5 separate regions of the Homo sapiens genome follow, and all the other regions are linked to region 2. The links are contacts of gene promoters, found by promoter capture Hi-C in blood cells and fetal thymus (Javierre and others, 2016). All regions are on one chromosome and are shown on one strand. Each heading gives the region's core, a stretch centred on a gene start or on the middle of the fragment in contact. The rest is flanking DNA. Distances are from core to core; before and after follow the strand shown. Region 1 overlaps YTHDC2 (YTH N6-methyladenosine RNA binding protein C2). Region 2 holds the start of DCP2 (decapping mRNA 2). Region 3 overlaps YTHDC2 (YTH N6-methyladenosine RNA binding protein C2). Region 4 has its middle 95 kb from the start of YTHDC2. Region 5 holds the start of EPB41L4A (erythrocyte membrane protein band 4.1 like 4A).

Region 1 (2,700 bases), core at 67-2,566, 610 kb after region 2:
AGCAGTCTTTATTCTGTTATTAATTTAGTTCCAATACTAAGGTATGGCCCTTCTGTGGGCCAGTACCATATATATTACAGGTTCTATCTGTTCTGGCTGAAGATAACACGAAATATTCCCAGCCATGAGTGAGCTCTAGGAATTGTTTGGTCTACTTGTTTTCCTTTGGATCTTTCCCTAGCCTTGGGTTATTTATCTTTTTTCTCACTCATGTTCAGGTCAGCACTTAGCCAAAAACTTGTGGGAACCCCTCTGTGTTTCCTTTGGAGCTCTCTTTATGTGCAGCTCCTTTCTGTCTAAGATAGTACATTGCCATGCACAGTAGCCACTTCGGTCTCTGAACTCCAGTGTCTTTCTGCACAACTTAATGAGACCACTGGACTCTGTTTTTCTTTGTCCTCTGAAAACTGCCTCCAGGCAGTAAGCTGGAGAAGTATTTGTTTTGTTTTCTGATTTTGAAAGTTTATTAAAACAATTTCTGAAAGTATATTTGAGGTATAAACCAAAGTTGGTACTCCAGGAGCCTTTGTTGATAAGGGATTTTGAATGCTCTGAAAATGAGTACTTGTTTTTGGCTAACTTTATTTTGGTTGAGTCTTGTGTAGGTTTCAGACATGATAGAGCTATTTGCATTTGTTGAATATATGATAAAATATTTTGGCTTATATGTTTATGAAGATGTTATTTAATGGAGCCTCTTGGTTTTGAAAGGTCAGGTTACCTTTCAAGAACTTATGTTTTCTTTTATAGGGCTCAAAATCTCCTTCGCCAAGACCAAACATGCCTGTTCGATACTTCATAATGAAGAGTAGCAATTTGAGAAACCTTGAAATTTCTCAACAGAAGGGTATCTGGTCTACAACTCCTAGTAATGAACGGAAGCTAAATCGAGCCTTTTGGGAAAGCAGCATAGTTTACTTGGTATTTTCTGTTCAAGGATCTGGACATTTCCAGGTGAGCCACCCTGAATCAGTAAAATGGGGTTGTTCTGGCTATAGGTTAAATCATAGAGATTTTTAGAAAAACAACTGGCTTTTCATTGCATCAGAATGCAAGAATGCCTTTTGCTTGACTGAGAATAAGGGATATATTGCATCTCTTTAGAGGATGATAGAACTGGAATCCTCTTTGTTTTTGCCTTGTCTTACCAGAGTCTTTCCAGGTAAACTATGTTTCCTTCTGAAGACAACTTTAGATTTACTAATTCTCAAGTGGATTCAAAGTAATGAGAAGCTTGACCTTTTGGTAAAATATTTATTTAAATAGGCCAAGGAAGTTAGTATTGACAATCAGTAAACTAAGTATGTTTCTTAACCCATCACCCATCTTGACTTAATGTATACCTGAATTTATAAAATAATACATTTATTATTTGATGTTTATTATAATTTTTGGAAATGAAAGCTTAGAGGTTAGCTTGTATCCATTTATCATGGAATAAAAATATGGACTTTGCTATTTTATTTAGAAATCATTATTGATATTTGAAATTGTTAGGAGGCTAGAACTGTTTTTTTCTAAAATTTGCTAAGAGAGCTTTTAATGAAAAATTTAGTAGCTTATTTTTTGTTTTTGTTAGGTATCTGTTATTTCAATATTATATCTTAATCTTAAAATTTTAAAAACTCAGCCTTCTCAGATAAATTAAATTTAGACATGCTAATCTCCTCCTCACCTCTATTCCTTCCTCCCATTTTACCTACAGGGATTTTCTAGGATGTCTTCTGAGATTGGAAGGGAAAAGAGTCAGGACTGGGGCTCTGCTGGACTAGGAGGAGTATTTAAGGTGGAGTGGATACGAAAAGAAAGCCTTCCCTTTCAATTTGCACACCATTTACTCAATCCATGGAATGACAACAAGAAAGTGCAGATAAGCAGGGATGGGCAGGTATACAATGGCATTTTTTTTTTTATTTACTTTTGTTTCTGTTTGTTTTCTGTTATCCAGTGCTTTAATTGAGGAGAAAATGTAAGAGTACAAATTTTATATTCCATATGCACATGGGAAACAGGGGTTCAGGTTTGTAAAAAGATAGTAAAAACCTACTTGTAAATGTGTCTGATTGCTCCTTGCAGTCAGAGTCTCAAGATGACAATAGTATTTAACTTCTCTTTGGCTTTAATTATGTAAAGTAAATAACCTTTTTATATTCTAGTGGCTTGTTTATTTCTATTGTGTTTTGCTTTGTCTTCATGATGCTATTTACATGCATTTTAAGCTAGTTAAGATGATGGAAATTAATGTATATTGACCAAATACTATGCTAGCTGCTTTAGAAGATATAATTTATTTCTTATGATTAAATTATTAGTCCAATTTTATATAGGAGAAAATAGACTCAAAGATTAGTTTTGCCTAAGGTCACACAGCTAATAATTTATCTGAACCAGTATGACTCGTTTCAAATCACCATGTAAAAAGTGTTTGGGTTCTTCTTAAGTGCTTATCATAGGTTATCATTCCACAGGAGTACTATGAAGTGGGATTCTTTTCAATTGTGTGAGAATAATTTCATTTTTATTCTATAATAATGATTTTGAAGAAATATGTTAGCTAGAAATCTTAGAAGAAAAAATATTTTAATAATTTTCAAGATAAGAAGATATAGTTGCTTAAGAGAGTTCCTTGGAAAAAAACCCAACATCGAATATGCTAGGTTTCACAGTAAACCTTTGGAAGTTCCAGCTGAGTGCTTTTGC
Region 2 (2,700 bases), core at 181-2,680:
GCTTTCAAGGCACTTGACTCCAGGTTAAGGCCTTACTCTTAAGTGTGAGTGAATAGTCAAGGACTACAGAGGCTTCTAATAGGATAGATGAGATCAAGATAATAGCAAAAAGCAGCTGAGAGGAATAAGACTACTCAGGGAGAAGAAAACGTCAAAATCTATTATTAATATCCTCAGAAGGATAAAATAAAATATACAAAGCAAGAATGTGACACCACAAGAAAGGGGCATTTGAAGAACAAAACAGAACTCTAAATAAGTAAAAACTCTGTAGTTGTCAGGAAGATAAATTTGAGGAATTCTCCAAGAAAGAGGGGAAAAAAAAGATGGAAAACGGGAGCAAAATAGATGGTGACGGGCCTCTTATGCCAAAGGAACTTGGGCTTGATCATACAGCAGAAACTGAAAAGATAACTTGTTCCTATCTGAGTAAAACAAAACAAAATGTAGGCAGTTGCACAGGCCAAGAATGGAGGCAGAGTCAGTGGTTAGGCAGCTCTCACTGTAGTATGGAGAAATGATGCAAAACTGAAGTACACAGTGGCATGTGACAAATTTAGACAAAAGATGGGAGATTAAATGGTAGAACAGACTAAACTTGTGACGGAGCAGGTGTGTGTGGGCCTGTGGGTCTGATGTAAGAGGAAAAAGAACAGATGGATCTAGTTTCTCCAAAGATCCCAAATGGATTGGTCTCCATTAAGCAAGACGAGGAATGAATAAGGACGAGCAGGTGGGGATTGCTTTGTGCAGAGGGTGGAATACAGATCAGAGTTCAGCTTAAATCAGTATTTTCTAAGATTTTGCTAGGTGCCAGATACTGAGATAAAGTCCTTGTCTTCATGTTTGGAACCAGGTGCCTAAGGAAGCACAGAGGAGAGCCACCTCCAAAATGGATACCCTCTCCAAGGGTTTGTAGTGAAAGAGGCACAGCTCTTGGCCTGGAGTTGGTGGGGGCTGCGATAAGTGCAAGATACTTGGTGACAGGAATCGCGAGCATACTCTTGTGTTGTACGGATTCTCAGGGTCGGCCCTGCAGAGGAAAGAGCTCAGTCACCGCGAGGTCCTGCACAACATGCCAAAGTCCCGGATATGTGTCCGGGGTCTACACCTAAGCCCCGACCCCTCTGAACTTCCCAGAAGCGCGCAGGAGGCATGGTGCGCATGCGTGTAGCCACCTCAAAGGCGGCGGGAAGTTGGTTTTCTGAGTAGCAACTGAGCAGCTTGAAGACGGATTGGAAGTAGCAGACCAATAAACAAACGTCTCATTGGCTTAGAGTGCTTAGAGTCCCAATTCTTCAGCTTCCCATTGGGCCTTTCAAGCGAGCAGGGGCGTGACTCCGGGGGCTCCGCCCCGAGCCTTGGCCCAGTCTTGGGGTCCAAGGCTGAGGGAGCGGGACGGAAGTGAGCGGGTCCCGCCCCTTCCCCTTCTCGTCTCCGTTGGAGTCGTCTCTGCCGCGGCTTCCTCGGCTGCCAGCTCTCCGGCGAGCCGGAGTCCTAGTGCCGTACCGTCAGTCCCCGGCCGCGCGGAGCCGGGATGCACTGTTCCTGCTGTGGGTCCTCATCATGGAGACCAAACGGGTGGAGATTCCCGGCAGCGTCCTGGACGATCTCTGCAGGTACCGCGCTACCCGACCCCCTTTCGCCCCCGTCGGGTTTTCTCAGTTTCGCGGACCCCCAGAGGCCTCTGGGTCTTCTTCCCCGCCCACGTCCATGTCCTCGCTTTCCGCTCCCGCCGCTGCTCGCTTTCCATCGTCGACCCTGCTCTCCGACGACACCGCCCCTCTTTCCGCCGCAGCCTCCCTGTTTCTCAAGGCCCTCCGTCCTTCCCCGCAGAACACCCGGAATTTCCTCATTTTTTAAGTTACTCAACTATTTTGCTTTCCCGCAGGCGTAGCCGCTTCGCCGGAGCCTGGGTCTTAGCGTTTTGCCGCCGCCGCCGCCTCCCTCTCCCATTGTTTTTTCTGCCTCTGTGACTTTTCCACGCCGTGCACCCCCTCCTCCCTGTGTCTCATTCCCCGATTCTGAAGGAAGACCCCCAGGGTAGTAATTTAAGGCTTAGGATCCCAGGTACGCGGACCTGCGCAAGGAGCAAATTTTCGGACTTATTCTGACGCCTGCGTGTTATTTGTCCGTGGCGTTCTCTGTAAATTCCTGTAAGGAATTACTTTTTTTTTCTCATCCCTGGACTTGTCTTTGGGGGAGAGAGGGAAAAAGTGTAGCGCTGCTTTTCTTTTTATCCTTAATAATCCTATTTTAAAGGAAATTCTCAACCGCGGGGTTTTAACTCAGGGTGTATACTTCAGATGAGAAATTTTCTGCATTCTTCCCCCTTGTCAACTCTGATTTCAGATAGCCAAACACGTGTAGGATACTTAAAAATGCTTATTTTCCGAAGGTAAAATTTGGAGTGCAGTGATACCCGGAGTTGTCGCCAAGTGTGTGTGGATTGTGATTACAAGTGATAACACCTTTTCGTTCACAGTTACTGTGTTTATGTTTTAAAAGGCAGGCTTTTAGTAGTTGTATCTCCTTCATGCAGTTTTTTTTAATGGAAAGTAAAGAACTGGTGTTTGTGGAGTTTTTTGGGGTTTTTTTTGTTTGTTTGTTTTTTTGTTTTTATTTTTTGAGACGGAGCCTCTTTCTTTTGCCCAGGCTGGTGTGCAGTGGTGCGGTCTTGGCTCACTGCAACCTCTGCCT
Region 3 (2,700 bases), core at 151-2,650, 550 kb after region 2:
GCAGAGCGGGTATTTGACTCCAGGGACTAGACTTTCCTATATTATGCTGCCATAACACACTAATAAGTGAGATTTTGAACTGGGGCTTTAGCTCTGGTAAGAGATTGGACAGAGTCTTCAGTACATTAAGTTGCTCAAAAGTAGGTAGATAATGTATTTGGGTTATAAAATAAAGATGTAATTTTACTATTTGGAAAGATCACTTCCCTATTAAGAAAACTATTTATTGCCTATAGTGATAAAATTTACATAGTTATTATTGTCTATTGGAATAGATCAGCAGAATATAGAAAATATGTGGTCCTAGATATCAAAGAACTTTCACTTTAAATATAGGCACACAAACATATTTTGAGCTACATGAATATAAAACATTTCATACCTCTTCTTTATTCCTATCTGTTTAGTTAAATGTGGATGTTGGCTAAAATACGCCATTAGGAAATTTGTTAACATTAGGACCTTTATATTTAACACATAATTATTCTATTTGATCACTTAATCTTACATGTATAGCATTAAACATATATGGGATATTTTCTTTTTTTTGTAATATGTTTTCGTAATGTACGTGACAGATCTTATAAGTATAATGTACATTATTTCCTACTACAAAAATTTAATTTTCCATGAAATTATTGATAGAAATTTATAACAAGCCTAAAAATCATCTAGATTATCAAGATTGTTTTATTTTTAATGGTTATTGAATGATTTATTTTTATCAATTTTTAAACATTATGTACCAGAAATATGTCTGAGGTTCACTTTCTAATTGATATTGAAATTTTGTAACATGTTCAATGAGAATATTATGTGTAAGAGTACAATTGAGATATTGCTTGACAACTTTATGTAGACTGAGTAGAGAAGAAAACATTTGAAAGGAATTATGTTAGAAATTATGTCTTTTGGCATGTTTTTCTAGGTTTGGCAAAAAAAATTACTTATTTTTAACACTTCTTTTTCCGTGTTGATCATACATTTTTTGTTCTTTTATTCATTTTCAAAGAAAACCGGGAAATGAGCAAGACAAGTGGGCGACTCAACAATGGCATACCTCAGATTCCAGTGAAAAGAGGAGAATCCGAATTTGATTCTTTTAGGCAGTCTTTACCAGTGTTTGAGAAACAGGAAGAAATTGTTAAAATAATTAAGGAAAATAAAGTAGTTTTGATTGTAGGAGAAACTGGGTCTGGAAAGACCACACAGGTTTGTTTCTTTTTTGTTGTTTATAGAAAAAAAAAAAAAAAATATATATATATATATATATATAGTCCCATATTATAATTTTATATCAAATTTACACTGCATATGTTTAAAAAAACAGAAAAAGAAACTTGTGGTTATTATAGTAATGGTTATTTCAGAAGTAAATTACTACTGGAATATATTTGGAGAATTTGTAGAAAGAAAATGTTTTAAATAATTTACTTATTTTTAAACTAGTGCATTAGGCCTTTATTTAAACAGAGTTGGGAAACTGATTTGGTATCATGGAAAGAAGATGGGCTTTGGCCTTGAATTTAGATTCCAGTTCCCTCAGTTATTGAAGTTCCAGGCTCTTTTTGTAACCTCTGTGAGCCAGAGTTCTCATTTATAAAATGGGACTAATCATTGCTACCTTTCACAGTGAGGTGTAGAGATTATCTCTGTAAAGTGCCTAGCATAGCATTTTGCATATAGGAACCAAAGTAAAAGCAGTAATAACAAATATTAATATAAAGTTGACTGTAGAATGGAATTAATATGATAGGTTTGACTTGCATTTTTAGAATCAAAGTACCTCCTTATGAAGTTTTACTCATAGGATAACAGATTGGAAGTAGTAAGTATGACATCATATGACTCTTGTGTACATTCTTGCGGCATTTCAGCTTAAAATTACTAAAATTAGTTTGCTTTTAATAGAGGTTCAGATAAAATAATAAATAGAATATTTGTAGGTTTTCTTCTTTTAGGGACATAATTTTGCTTTTGACAATTGCCTAAAATTTCCTGTGATTATATTGGTTAGTTTAATAGGCTTAGTAGATAAGGCAAGGTGGGAGGAGAAGTTGAGTATAAACTTTACCAGTTTTTTACTTGAAGGACTTAAACATTTTTACAGAATTATATCTGTTTATCCTTAAAACTTGATCCTGTAAAACTGAATAATTAAAAACATGATGAAATTTTTTTCTGAAGACTATACAAGATCTTTCTTTAGCATGAGTTTGTTTTTTATTTTTTTGAGACCAAGTCTCTGTCTGTCACCCAGGCTGGAGTGCAGTGGTGCTATCTCGGCTTACTGCAACCTCAGTGCCTCCCAGGTTCAAGCGATTCTCCTGGCTCAGCCTCCTGAGTAACTGGGATTACAGGCACCCGCCACCACGCCTGACCCAGCATGAGTGCTTTTATGATTAAGTGAAATTCCATGGAGTTACTCCAGAGAATTTGTTTAGCTGTCTTAGATTGTTATAATTTTTTTAGGGTGAGTAATTTTGCCATTAAGTATTAATTGTAGCAGTTCTAATTATATAGAATAGAGATTATGGAAGTTTCGATAAAATGTAATAAATAGGTCTTTGTTTAAATTATTTGAATGTCCTTGCTAATGATATCTATATATGAGAATTATGGATGCCTGTTTTCAACAGTTATGTGTATCATTTTACTAGATATGAAAGGATACTTGTGAATTTAATTCGTAAATATTAT
Region 4 (2,700 bases), core at 175-2,674, 630 kb after region 2:
GAAAAAGTGGGTCACTTTCTTATGCACAAGGGCATGGCCTTCTTACTAGAACTTTGCAAGTGTTGCACAATCAACTCAGCTTTTTTACCAGTCATATCAGGAGGGCCCAAAGAAAATGATTCCCCAAAATTAGAGAAACAAACCCTCAGGAAACCCTTGAATGCAACCCTCGAATGCAACTTCCAGATGCTGTGGCCCTTCCTGCCCCCCATCCACATGTCAGCTCCTCCAGTTCTACTACCCAAACCGCTAGACTTTTCTATGGTATTTCTCCTTCCTTCTTTCACAGTTTAAAATGGCTCCTATTCCTTCTTTTATAATGTTCCTCCAAACAGAGAAATGTCAAGTTCCCCAAACCTTAAAGTGCATCGCTTAGAGTTGAGCTCAGGAGCAGGGAACCCAGAAGCTGACATGCCAGCAAAACGGTAAAAGTTTTTTTTTAACCAGTTGGGCTTTTGGCCTCTCTGTCTCTGGGCAAACTGGTAAAAGGGATAATAAGGATCACTGATTACATTCTCTGTTAAGTTTTAATTAATGAAAAAGGATTTGTGTAGTTGGTCTTAAGCTGTCGTCAATCTGGTGTGCTTTGCATGTCTTTCTGCATGGTTCTGTCAAAAGAAAGGGTGCCTTAGGACTGGGACCTCATAAACCTGCTGTTCAAGCCAGCCCTACAAAATGATCGGTGATGAAGTTTGCTGCAGGCCTCCATCTTGTTTTATGTCCTTGGGAACATGAGCTGTGACTACGTGGCAATATTTTGTTTTAGTCTCTGCCATTCTACAGTGGTGGCTGTCTTCTTGTGCTGAGTCACTTCCTGAGTGGGGGCTACAAAATCAGATGAGCCAGTTTGTCAATCTGGGTGGTGCCAGCTGATCCATCAAGGGCAGGGTTTGCCAAGTATCTTGAGCACTGATCTTGGGAGCAGTTTAGGGAGGGTCAGAATCTTGCAGCTTCCAGCTGCACGACTCCTGAGCCATGGTTTCTAATCTTGTGGCTAGTTTCTTGGTCTAGTGCCCAGACAAGAGGGAGGCTTATTTTGGGAAGGAGTTGCTATCATCTTTGTTTTAGGCTATAAACTGTAAACTAGGCTCCTCCCAGAGTTGGTTTGGCCTATGCCTAGGGATGGGCAAGGACAGCTTGGGGGCTGGAAGCAAGATGGAGTTGGTTGGGTTGGACCTCTTTTACCGTCTCAGTCATTTTGCAATGACAGTTTCAAAAGTTGCTTACCGCCCCTTTGAGAATACCTCATACACTTGCAGTTAAGTCATAACCTAATGGAGGCTTATTGGTTTCACCTGTGAGGTTACTTTTGGTAAAGTTCAAAAGCCAAAAATCTTAACCACTTGGTGTGGCTAATGTTGAGTAACAAGATATCTTAAATGATTTTCTTAAAGAGAGCTCAGCTTAATTAAAAGTGGATATTCAAGCTACAGGTATATTTTAAAGGCCTATACGTTTTTCTTTTCTTGGGTCTTGTTTTTCTGGAAAAAGGTTTTTATTCTCAGTTGACTGAATTATTTTTCTCCATTTTTTGTCTTGCCACTCTTTTTTTTTTTTTTTTTTTTTTTTTTGAGACAGAGTCTTACGCTGTCACCCAGCCTGGAGTGCAGTGGCACGATCTCGGCTCACTGCAACCTCTGCCTCCCAGGTTCTAGCAATTCTCCTGTCTCAGCCTTCCAAGTAGCTGGGACTACAGGCGCATGCCAGCATGCCCAGCTAATTTTTTGTATTTTAGTAGAGACGGGGTTTCACCGAGTTGCCCAGGCTGGTCTCAAACTCCTGAGCTCAGGCAATCCATGTGCCTTGGCCTGTGAAAGTGCTAGGATTACAGGCATGAGCCACTGCACCCAGCCTGTCTTGCCACTCTTAATGCACACATGAGATGGCCTAAGATAACTTTTGGTAGCCTGGAATTCCTTTGGAAAAACAGAGGAGATGCCAGAGACCCTGTTTTGGAAAAAAACCTCTGTTTTCCTCATGAAATCCCAGAATTAAAAGCGGATAAATCCCTCTCAAAATGAAAGGCTCTGTTCTATTTTGCATTGTGTTATCTGACGGTTTAGAGTTTGGGGAGTATCAGAAATTGCTTCACATTAGAGAGACCTTTGGTGTGTACTAACGAGGTAGGAAATATACTTTAAGGGATGGCTACTAGTAGTTATGGAGGGATACTTGACTCTTTGCACATTTGGATCAGAGAAGCACGCTGTTGACCACCTGGAAGATATGGAAACATCCCTACCCCCACTAAGAGATGAGACTCCCATGGGGGATGGGCTGATTACAAAATAGGCTTATTGGCTTTGCTTTGCCTTGCAATAAAATGCATGGTAGAAGCACTGCACTATCTTCTTCTATAGTATTTCTCTCCTTTTGGGGATCCAGGATCCAGTATAAAATGGCACCCTTAATTTTGGGGATCTGTCTTTGCCTTCAGCTGTGCCTGCTTATTAGACCCTAGAAATGAGTGCTTTCCTAGCCCTGTTCCTCCAAGGGCTCTACCCTGAAGCCAGTAATTCAGTTAAGAAACTGGCAAATGAAAAATCTTACAAGTACTGAATCTTCTGTCTGTCTGTATAGCTAAATATGTGTTGTGTGTAATGTCTATAAAACAGCTCTAATTGATTGGCTCAAAGAAAAATACACATTTAAATCAAGTATTTTTTAAAGCAAATATAAAAGCTATAATGCCTTTCAGTG
Region 5 (2,700 bases), core at 80-2,579, 560 kb before region 2:
CCTACCCCATTATGATTAACTTCTGAGATGAAGCGACTAAGAGAGGATACTTGGCAGCCTGAACTCGATTTCTCAGAAAGCCAGCTCTATCAGAGCGGGGGCGGGGGGGCGGTTTCCCTTCACCAGACTCAGCTGTTGCCTTATCTAAAATGCCTTAGCGATCTAAAACTGAAAGAGAAAGATAAACAAAACAACAAAACGCTCCGGATTTAGATCTCCTTTAGGTAGTTAACACTGTTGCAAAAGCAAAACAAGCACGCAGGCGCGTCGGTCAGGTTGTCACTACAAACATACGTACCTTCTCATCCAATGTAAGGAAGAGGATCTCTGCGAGCTCTGCTGCCTTTTTGTTTGGGCTCTCTAGGTTAATGTAGTGATTGCATTTTAATGACCCACAAACAGGAGCAAAGTTATTACTGGGTCGCTTTGAGAGATGTTTACTTAAATGTGAGGATAAACCCAGGTCGCTGTAGAAAGGGAAAATATTTTCCGTCCAAACGTAGCATTACCCAACTACGAACCCACGCAAAACAATCACAATGACCCATTAATGCGTTTCAACGAGTGAACTAGTTCACTTCCCTAATAACACTGTCAAGGAAAACGCCTTCAACAAAGTCGAGGGAAACCATGCCTTCCACACTGGTGGGACGCAGCTGGTATAACCCATTCTGCCCCTCTTTGAGAGCTGCGGGGCACCCAGAGGCTTTTGGAGAAAACCGGTTTGGGGAAGAGTTTTGGGGTGCTGCTGGGAGCCGGTGTGCTGAGTAAACTTAGAAACGTCAAACTCAACTTTGCTTTATGAAGGAACTCAAAGTTAACTCACCCTGGTACGTCCACCCTCTCCCTGCGCGCAGGGGACAGCGGCCTCTCCTCCCCACCGCGCAGAGTCGCGGCCGCCGCCCTCGACCCACCGGTGACAGCCCTCAAAGCGATGGACCCCCGCACCCGCCCTGCCGCCAACCCCCGGAACGCGCTCCGGGCCGCACCCACCTTGATGCCCTGCTGCTGGGTGGTAAGGGTTAACTTGGATTCATCCAGGAGCAAAACTTCGCAGTAAAATTCTTCCGGAACAGCGCAGAAACAGCCCATGTCGGTTGTGGTCGTCTCCAGCCAGGAGAGAAAGCTACCACCGAGGCGCCCAGCCGCCCCCTCCACTCAAGCGCGATGCATTAATTTATTGTCCGCGCCGTGGCGAGGGTGAGACGAGCAGCTCCCGGCGGGGTCCGGGGACCGGCCGCCGAACCGCCCGGCGGGGCGGGAGCGAGAAAGGCGGAAAAGCCCGGGAGAGTCAGCGCCCGGGAGCCGCCGGGGAAGCGCCGGCGGAACTGGGCGCGGAGGGCGGTGGCGCGTCCCCGCGCATCCTGCGGCTCGAGCTCCTCCGAAGGCGGGGGCGCGGGGCCCCTCCCGCAGTCCTGGGGACGACAAAAGTCTCCTGGCACTGGGGGCAAGAGACCAGAAAAAGGAGTGATGGGAATTCGAGGCTCTCCCCGGCCTTGGAAAACCCTGGAAGCGCTGCACCTCCCTCCTGCCGCACGGATTTGAGCGCGGCCCCGACGTCCTGGCGTCCGATCGGCCTGCGGAGTCCCCCGCGGGCGCGCACTTCCAGCCGCGACCCCGCCCCGCAGCCCCGGGTCAGATCCGCCGAGTATGAAGCGCTCGGCTTTTCTTTTGTGTGAGGAGCACCCACGACGCCCCGACCATGGGCGCAGGGGCAGAGGCGAAGGTCGTCGCTCCGTCCGCTACCCCGTCCCCCAGCCGCAAGCGCCGAGGAGCCGGAAGAGAGGCGGAAAGGGCAGCAGGCTCCTTACCCAGACCAGCGAGGGGAGGTCAGCTCGTCGCGGGGTGTGGCTCCCGTCCGGGGACTCCCGAGCTCATTACGGGTGGCCGTGTGTAGCCAAGTTCAAGCTCTCCCTCCGGGAATGCCTGCCGCGGCGGCGGAATACGGCTTCTTCAGGACATTCAGCAAAGCGGGGAGGCGGGGACCTGCGGGCGGAGGAGCGACGCCCCAGCTGGGAACGCGGCGGACGGGCGAGCGGGGGGTGCGCCCTGGGCGCGCCAGGCCGCAGAGGCTCCGGGGAAAGTTCTCTTGGCCGCGCGAGTGGTGGCGCCCCGGGCGGGAGCAGCCCAGGTGCATGTGGGCCCGGTCCAGGCGTCTGCAAAAAGCCCTGGAACGAAGCGGACCCCCCAGTCCAGCGCTGGCCGCGGCAGGGGAGCCCCTTCTGGGCGGGGTATCAGCTGGGGGCGGAGGGCGGGGCAGAGACCGTGGTCCCAGCGGCGAGGTGCCGGCGAGTCCACGCTGCCAAGCCGCACACTGCGCCCAAGCCGCGGGGCAGTCCAGCGCTCGCTGCGTCCTTCCCCCGAGAGACCTGGAGGCTGGGTGGGGAGAAGAGGACGCGGTGCTGCTCGGACCCCACGGTTCGGCGGTCCCAATCCCACGCCCTCCGCGCGGTCGGCCGCGTCCAGGACTGAGGGGCACAATAGCTCTGAAGCTGCAGTGACCCCTGGTGGGTCCCGATGTCCGTGCACAGGCAGCCGAGGTTGAGCTGCGGACGACACTGAGCCCCGCTGGGCTTCGGAGCAGGTGCAATCTGTGCTCTCCAGCTGGGAACCAGCAGCGAGTTAATGCGAGTCGCAGTTAGGGGAGACACGAGGGGAGGTGTCACAGAAAAAAAACTCTATATTGAGTTTTAGAGTTAG

What was found. Contacts are between HindIII fragments. The CHiCAGO score rates a contact against its expected background, and 5 or more counts as called.
Region 1: a contact is called between a fragment that was not itself captured here and the fragment with the promoter of DCP2 in region 2, in 1 of 17 cell types (erythroblasts). The highest score is 5.2, in erythroblasts.
Region 3: a contact is called between a fragment that was not itself captured here and the fragment with the promoter of DCP2 in region 2, in 1 of 17 cell types (total CD8 T cells). The highest score is 5.7, in total CD8 T cells.
Region 4: a contact is called between a fragment that was not itself captured here and the fragment with the promoter of DCP2 in region 2, in 5 of 17 cell types (naive CD4 T cells, total CD4 T cells, activated CD4 T cells and 2 more). The highest score is 10.9, in naive CD4 T cells.
Region 5: the fragment with the promoter of EPB41L4A here is called in contact with the fragment with the promoter of DCP2 in region 2 in 1 of 17 cell types (total B cells); the score reaches 6.3 in total B cells.

What each region holds. Positions count from the first base shown.
Region 1 is chr5:113,590,291-113,592,990 of GRCh38, forward strand. It overlaps YTHDC2 (YTH N6-methyladenosine RNA binding protein C2), which reads left to right. Exons shown (of 30, transcript NM_022828.5): 27 at 751-954; 28 at 1,706-1,888. Among named protein-coding and RNA genes, the nearest start is that of YTHDC2, 78 kb to the left of the region's middle. The HindIII fragment of the contact is 171 bases long and covers 1,232-1,402 here.
Region 2 is chr5:112,975,368-112,978,067 of GRCh38, forward strand. It overlaps DCP2 (decapping mRNA 2), which reads left to right and starts at 1,431. Exons shown (of 11, transcript NM_152624.6): 1 at 1,431-1,619. The coding sequence starts at 1,567. RefSeq lists enhancers at 922-971, 1,002-1,081, 1,097-1,856, 1,392-1,441, 1,512-1,601 and 2 more. The HindIII fragment of the contact is 6,686 bases long and covers 1-2,700 here.
Region 3 is chr5:113,525,574-113,528,273 of GRCh38, forward strand. It overlaps YTHDC2 (YTH N6-methyladenosine RNA binding protein C2), which reads left to right. Exons shown (of 30, transcript NM_022828.5): 4 at 1,013-1,212. Among named protein-coding and RNA genes, the nearest start is that of YTHDC2, 13 kb to the left of the region's middle. The HindIII fragment of the contact is 5,116 bases long and covers 1-2,700 here.
Region 4 is chr5:113,607,492-113,610,191 of GRCh38, forward strand. No RefSeq gene overlaps it. Among named protein-coding and RNA genes, the nearest start is that of YTHDC2, 95 kb to the left of the region's middle. The HindIII fragment of the contact is 6,590 bases long and covers 1-2,700 here.
Region 5 is chr5:112,417,948-112,420,647 of GRCh38, forward strand. It overlaps EPB41L4A (erythrocyte membrane protein band 4.1 like 4A), which reads right to left and starts at 1,330. Exons shown (of 23, transcript NM_022140.5): 1 at 994-1,330. The coding sequence starts at 1,092. It overlaps EPB41L4A-DT (EPB41L4A divergent transcript), which reads left to right and starts at 1,636. Exons shown (of 1, transcript NR_027706.1): 1 at 1,636-2,700. RefSeq lists a silencer at 1,995-2,084. The HindIII fragment of the contact is 9,034 bases long and covers 1-2,700 here.